2 separate regions of the Homo sapiens genome follow, and region 2 is linked to region 1. The links are contacts of gene promoters, found by promoter capture Hi-C in blood cells and fetal thymus (Javierre and others, 2016). All regions are on one chromosome and are shown on one strand. Each heading gives the region's core, a stretch centred on a gene start or on the middle of the fragment in contact. The rest is flanking DNA. Distances are from core to core; before and after follow the strand shown. Region 1 holds the start of EVA1C (eva-1 homolog C). Region 2 has its middle 40 kb from the start of TCP10L.

Evidence for each region. The method cuts DNA at HindIII sites, captures the fragments that hold promoters and counts their contacts. A CHiCAGO score of 5 or more calls a contact.
Region 2: a fragment that was not itself captured here is called in contact with the fragment with the promoter of EVA1C in region 1 in 3 of 17 cell types (megakaryocytes, endothelial precursors and erythroblasts); the score reaches 8.2 in megakaryocytes.

Annotation. Positions count from the first base shown.
Region 1 is chr21:32,411,283-32,414,841 of GRCh38, reverse strand. It overlaps EVA1C (eva-1 homolog C), which reads right to left and starts at 2,136. Exons shown (of 8, transcript NM_058187.5): 1 at 1,829-2,136. The coding sequence starts at 1,988. The HindIII fragment of the contact is 8,620 bases long and covers 1-3,559 here.
Region 2 is chr21:32,544,263-32,547,763 of GRCh38, reverse strand. No RefSeq gene overlaps it. Among named protein-coding and RNA genes, the nearest start is that of TCP10L, 40 kb to the left of the region's middle. The HindIII fragment of the contact is 4,581 bases long and covers 1-3,501 here.

The sequences.
Region 1 (3,559 bases), core at 887-3,386:
TCTGGAGAGCATCACTGATGAGAGGAAAAATGGGGGCTCGTTGTGGGTGGCAATATCACCACCTACTGCTGGCTCAGGGAGTTTGAAACCCTGGAATTTAGGTTCGTATGGAAAGCAGAAGAAAATGCCTTTTATCATTTATACTATTTAGAATAACATGTATCAAATCATTCATTTTACTAAGGAGTTGATAGCTCAACTCCACTGTATGTAACAGTTGCTAGATACAGACAATTCCAAACTTGGGTGGTAATCTATAGACTGTTACAAGTATTGCAACTGCTTCCCTAAAGCAACAGAACTCTAAGTGTCTATAATCTGTGAAAACAATCTAATGGTTACACTGCAATTTGCCTAAAGCAATATTTGTTCAGTTGCAATGATGTCACAAACACAAAAAGGCTTGTCAGTTTTCAATTATTTCCTTAGAATTCAGAGCTAGATGGTGGCTGAACTCAGAACTGCTTTCCATAGCTCAAATCAGCTAATACAGAGCTTTTCTAGCAGCCAAGAAAGTTCTAGTAGTACAAAAAAAAAAGTTAATAGCCCTTGAAAAGTCTGATGCATTTCCCCACAACTCTTACCACAGAGTTCTGATCCTGGGATGCTTGATTTTAAGGGCCGTGGGTGGCTTGCCAAATAGGCCTTATCTTGGCTTCCTTTGCTAGGTAGGAATACTGCCTTGATATTACATATTCAAAGCAAAGAACCTCTGACCTAAGGGCTCTCCACTAACAATGACATTCTCTGTAAGTAAACTAGAACCCCATCTCAACTTCTGGTTTGCCCTTGTTCTTTGCTATGTACTAGCCTACTGCACAAACAGGACTGAGGAGGACTCCCTTTACCACCATTATGTTGCAAAAGACTCTGCACTGAGGACCCGATAGGGACCGACTGTGCAAAGCCTGAACTTGGCAGAAGATCCCTGGAGAAGGAGGAGTATGGGGCTCAGAGCTGCTCCCTAAGCTGGGCTGGGGAAGGCTGAAGGCCTCCAGCCTTGCCAGAGGGAGATCCAGGTGTGCTTCAGCGGCAAGGACATGTGTTACCTTAAGCAACTGCAGCGCTAACTTAAGCATGTGCTCCTATGGCTATCGTCAACCTAGAAATCCCTTTCACTTTGGGGCGTCACACCTGTAAGCTCAGAACTATCTGAGATCCGCTGCGAGAGCCTGGATCACGATTCCCAAAAAGAAAAGCCTCCTAGTTTATTCGAGAGTAGGAAGTCATTATTTTCTGTGAAGGAAACTGGAATTGGAGAGGGAGGACCCTGGTACACTTTGGCAGAGAGGCTCCTCTCTCTTATCTAAGTATCTCCTCATCCCTCACTGCCTTTCCACCAGACCTCCAGTCCCCGCGGGCTTCCCTTTCTACCTGCCAATGTGGACTCGAGGTCAAGTGTCCCCTGGGCTAGTCTCCTTACATGGGCAAACGGGCTACGCGGGTGACAAACGCGGCGCAACGCCTCCGACCACAACACGTGTATTTTACAGCGCTGGGCGCGGCACAGGGCTCAGTTTAAGGAGCCTCCATAGAACGAGCGTGGCTCAGGACCAGGTCCCTAATGCTAGGAAATTGACGAGGTCAACAGCAGGGCGAGAAACTCTGAATACATTACACACCCTTCCTTCTTGGGAGTGGCAGTCCCCCGTCGCCACTTCACTCGCAGCCATCTATATGCCAAGGGCTCACACCAGACAAGTGTCTGTGAGCACGCCTCAACTTTAATCCTACCCCGCCGTGTCCACTGGTGCGGCTGCCCCCAGTCGAGGGTTCACCTGGGCGCTCCGCGGTGCCGGGGGCACACAGCCAGGGAGGGCGCTCTTACCAGAGAAGTCGGTGAGCGCTGAGATCTCTTTGGAGCAGACCAGGACAGTGCAGTAGAAGAGGCGCAGGAGCTGCCCCGGCGGCTCTACCTGCCGGCGGAGGCCGGGATGCTGCACGGGCTGGGGCGTCGGCGGTTGGCGTGCGCGTCCCGGCAGAAGCATCGTGCGCTGCGCGGCGGGGCGGAGGCGCAGGCCCGGGACGCGCTGGGGGTCGCAGGGCTAAGGACGGCGTCACATGGCGGGGAGAATCGATGGCCAGCGGCTCCGCGGCCCCCCGCCGCCTCCCTGCCCAGGCTGCCAGAGCCTCCTCCCCTGCGCGGGCCAGCCCAGGCGCCCCAGCAAAGGGGAGGGGGCGGAGAACTGGGGCGGGGCGAGGATCCCCGAAAAGGATCCGCGTAGTTTCCCCGAGAGGAAATCTCCGTTGCCGCCGTGCCGGAGGAAGCGAGGGGGGCCGTAGGGAAAGCGCAGCCTTCGCGCGCCCCGCGGCTGCCCAGGCCGATCCCTGGCGCGCTGCCCACCGCGGAGGGCGCCCCCAGTAGCGCGCCCCGGGCCGCGCACCTTGAGCGCCTTCCACACCCGGGAAACAGCCGGGCACCCGTGGCCCTGCCCGCGCTGGCCGGGTGCCAGCCTCGCCCTGGCGGCAGAAGGAGCGCGGCCGGTGCCCGTGACGCACTTTGGAGCCAGCGCCGCGCGTGCAGCTGGGGCGCCCCCGGGGCGGGGCCGATCGGGGGCCGCAGGAAGGTGGGGTCCTGGAGGCGTGGGATCGCACCGCTGCCATCCCCGCCACCCGCCGCGCGCCACGTGCAGTCACCCGGCACATACAGTTATCGCCATTCCACAGAAGAGGAGACTGAGCCCCGGCGCCGTGCCCAAGCTCTCGCAGCCAGGACGGCGACGAGCTGGAGGTCTCAAAACCGGTCAGATGGCTCCGGAGCCGGGATCTTTAGCTCCAGCTCGGCTTCCTTTGGGTGCTGGTTGTCCGCAGCGCTGGGGGATCTGACACTGCACCGGCGCAAACAGCCGCCGAGCGCTAATAATTGGGCTTTGTTTTAAAGTGGGCCACAGCATCTTTCTGAACCTCTAGACTGTGCGCGGGGTGACCCACGTTCGGACGCCCAGCCAGTGGCCTAGGAGTGGCCTGCGTAGCCCCAACTCAAGGGTATCGAGGACAAGTGCGCGAGGGGCTCCGTGGCTGCTTGCCGGGTGCGGGTACCTGGCGCCCAGCGACCCAAACCCTATGGATCGCGCGGGGCCGGCGGAAGGGAGGAGGGCGGGCGCTAGGCACACAGTGTTCCCGAACCCGGCGGGAGGGCCTGCCAAGTTCGCGGCGGGCGTGACGCGGAAACGTAGATAATGAGGCCCAGGGCGGGGCCGGACGCACTGCCCCGCGGGCTCCAGAGCTGCGAACGCCCCAGAGTGTGCAGGGAGGCCTGCAGAAAGAAAATGCGGCTGAGGGTCCCCGTGGGACCCACTCAGAGGTGGGCCGTAAAGATCCCGGAAGGGTGGATGGCATTAGATACCACCTAGTACTCCAGCAAGGGCTGGGTCACCGAATTGGGATCTCGGCCTCTTCTTCCAGTCTGGGGAAAAGTGTGTTAAATGCTAAACATCAGTGTTTATCGAGTGAGGCCCAGCCTGTCTGGCATAATGATTTTTAAAATCTACATTCAAATATTAAATAAAAACTCAACCTCCCCAATAACATTTGAACATAAATATTAGTGTGCGCTCTC
Region 2 (3,501 bases), core at 43-2,542, 130 kb before region 1:
GGTCCAATGAAGACGTAGTTCTGAAGGCATATTTCTGAGCTCTTTAGGAGGGAGAATGGACAGGGCTTGTGATGGCTGGGGTTGGGGAGCAGGTGAGGGGTCTGGGATGACTCTTTGGGTGTCTGGCTCGCACAGCTGGATGAGTGGCAGTGCCACTAGCTGAGAATAAGAACATGGGAAGCCCGCTAGATTTAGGAGAGGACTCAAACTTCATTTAGACCTGTTGAGTGGGAGATACCCCCCAAAAGAAGGTATGGTGTGAATAGTTGCCTATAAAGGTCTGATATTCAAATGAAAGATTGGAGGCATCTGAAAATGGAAGCTGCCAGTGTGGATGAACCATCTTAAAGAGAGGCTACTAAATAAGAATGAAGACTAGGACTGAGATGCCAGGACTCCGGTGTGTGTGGGCCATGGTGCAGAGATGTAGGAGTGCCCAGAGCAGCAGGAAACTTGGAGGGTGGGGCACCTCAGGGTGGGAGAGGCTGCTTCAGAAAGGAGGGCCGGCCGGGGGTGGGGTGGGGGAGGAGGGTGCCATGGAGCCCACCAAGGTGATGATTCACTCAAGGATGGGTGTGGACTCACCCTTGAAAACACTGTAAGGCAGAGATTATTATTATCTTCCTTGAATAGATCAAGGGACTGAAGCTCAAAGAACTTAAATAATTGGCTTCAAATCACACAATAAATAGGTTGTGGAGCAGAATTTGAAGCTGGTTCTCTAGGTCCAGATCCCCTGCGCCAGCCCTGTCTCTCTGTAGCTTTATTTCTTTCACGTTGAAGCATTTTTTTTTTCTAGAAAAGGAACAACATAATGGTATTTTGGTTTGTTAAGTAATCATGATGGGAAAAAGAATGACAACTGACATTTAATGTGAGGCTTATAAAATGATTAAAGGGTTTGAATACTGTATGATAAATAGGCTTTTAAAATCCACGTATCTGACCTCTTATTAGGCTGCTTATTTCTACACTGACAGTGCAGCTCAAACAATTGCTGAAGAACTGCATATATCTTCTGCCTCAATTACTTTCTTTCAGAGACAATTTAGTAACGATGACTTTTCTGAAGTTAGCCAATGTAATTCAAAACCAGATAGGTAAAAGAGAGGCCAGTCATGAAGGATGTGAACGAATATCACGTTGAGGACTAAGAGAATTAAAATGAACTGAGGATTTCTGTTTTTCCTGTCTTTATGATGATCAGAAACTGAGGCAAAAGGATTAAGTATATGTCTGTTGATTTCAAAACACAATGCATGGAAAATTCACCTTCAAATGACATGTGGATTTGGAAAACTCAAACATGGACTGGAGTGGATTGGACTCTAGGGGTTTTAGATATTCTGATGTTTGTGGTAGTACGGATGATGAGAAGTTGATGAGTCTAGGAATATATGAGTCGCTGGCCTGGAAGTAATACAATGATTCAGATTGGGAGTTGGGAAGGTCTACGTCGTTATCCATGGGGGAGGTTGCTAGAAAGGAAACTATTTAAACACTTTAAAGAAACACAACTCTGAAAACACCTAGAACCTGAAGAGTGAGGGGAAACAGACAGGGTCCCCAGTGGGGTGACTTGGCTCTTTTTGAGGGGCCCTATAATGTCCTGGGCTTAACGCTATCTCTGCCCTTCCACCATGCACTGTAATGGTCTGATAACTGGTCTGCTTCATAAGAGCATGAACTTCTTACGGCAAGGACTGTGTCTTACTCACCTTTGTGTCACTTAGTTCAGTGCCTGGATCATAGCAGATGTTTGTTAAATAAATGTTTGTTAGAAGGTTGAGCAAGTAAACAAATGCCAGGAAAGGTGAGAATTTGAAAGAAGGCTAGGGAAAGGGAAGGAAGAAGGCTTTGGTCTCTGTGCTAGGAGAAGGAGAATTTGGGAAAATCGTGTATTTATGTATGCCCAGAAGAGTATTATTCATGGCTTGAGTGTGAATCTAAGACCTGGATACCTTTTCTGACAGAAAGGTATCACATTCTTCAAAATTAAAAGGAGAAGATGCCTGAAGAATTGTTCAGGTGCAAAGAGAAATTCCATCAGGAATCCAGCAAGGCGGGGTTGGGTTCTAAGATGAAGACTTGAGCAACACAAATGTATGAACAACCAACAGGAAGCGGAGCCTGTCCAAAGCCTGATTTACTTAGTGAGGCTCAGCTCATTTGATTTAGGAGGTGATTTTTGTAACAAATTTTTGTCCTGAGGTGGCCAAAAAGTTCTTTAGTGCTTAAAGCTGATGGAGTGTGGGTTAGGAAAATAAAAACAGCCCAGGGGGAATAGATGTCAAGGAGGTGTGGGAAAAAGACCCTTATTCCAAGGGTAAGATCTTTGGAGATGGGCCTCTCCATCCCATTTTCTTGCTTTGGGCCCTGGGAAGGAGGGGGTCTTAGTCCTCAGCATCTCATGAGATTAAAAGTAAATTTAGGCCAGGCATGGTGGCTCATGCCTGTAATCCCAGCACTCCAGGAGGCCAAGGCGGGTGGATCACTTGAGGTCAGGAGTTTGAGACCAGCCAGGCCAACATGGTGAAACTCTGTTTCTACTAAAAATACAAAAATTAGCCAGGCATGGTGGTGGGTGCCTGTAATCCCAACTACTCGGGAGGCTGAGGCAGGAGAATTGCCTAAAAACCCAGGAGACAGCGGTTGCAGTGAGCCGAGGTAGCACCACTGCACCCCAGCCTGGGCGACAGAGAGTCTCCATCTCAAAAAAAAAAAAAAAAAAGTAAATCTGTTCAGTGGTGGAGAAGAAAAGAAGTCAAACCTTGAGGACCAGTTGCTTGATGACCAGTCTCATTTGCTTATTTATAACAATAGCCCTTTCCTGATTGATTCATCGGAGTCAAGGATATGGCTTGAACAGTGCATTCTTGAAGGCGTAATTTCCTTTGTGACCTCACAGAAGACGTGATCCCTGAAGCTGGGCCTCCAACTATCCTGAAGTTCAGAAACAGCTGATGGATCATTAATTTTTCCTTTCTTGTGTGGGCCAGGAAGCTCTCTGGTTAAGAAAACTTTGCCCATCAGGGACATTAGTTAATTAACTAATTAAATTAATCAATTAGCTAATTAATTAGATTAAAGAGGCATCATTGTAATTTACTCTATTTCCTATAAATTAGATTATTGAAGGAGTTGCTTTTTTTGATTCCTTGATAGTATTTGCCACTCCATGGTGTAACATGATAGGTTAAAAATCAGTCAAATAGGGAATGATGAAGATAAAAATAACAGTCATGGACTTTAAACTCATGCACATTAAAGTAGTGAAAATATGTGCTTTTATCTGAATTTCTTGCTATGAGGCTTTGGGAGTGTTTCTATAGATAATATTTTAATGAATTTTTTATTCCAAGTTTTCAATGTTACAAAAGGATGACTTTTAGATTTTTCTTCAGTGCAGGGGAAGAAATGAAAGGCAAGACTTGATTCTCTGCACTAATTAAGAAGTGAAGAGCTAGAGAAAAAGCCAGGCAGCCTCCATAAAGGGTTTGG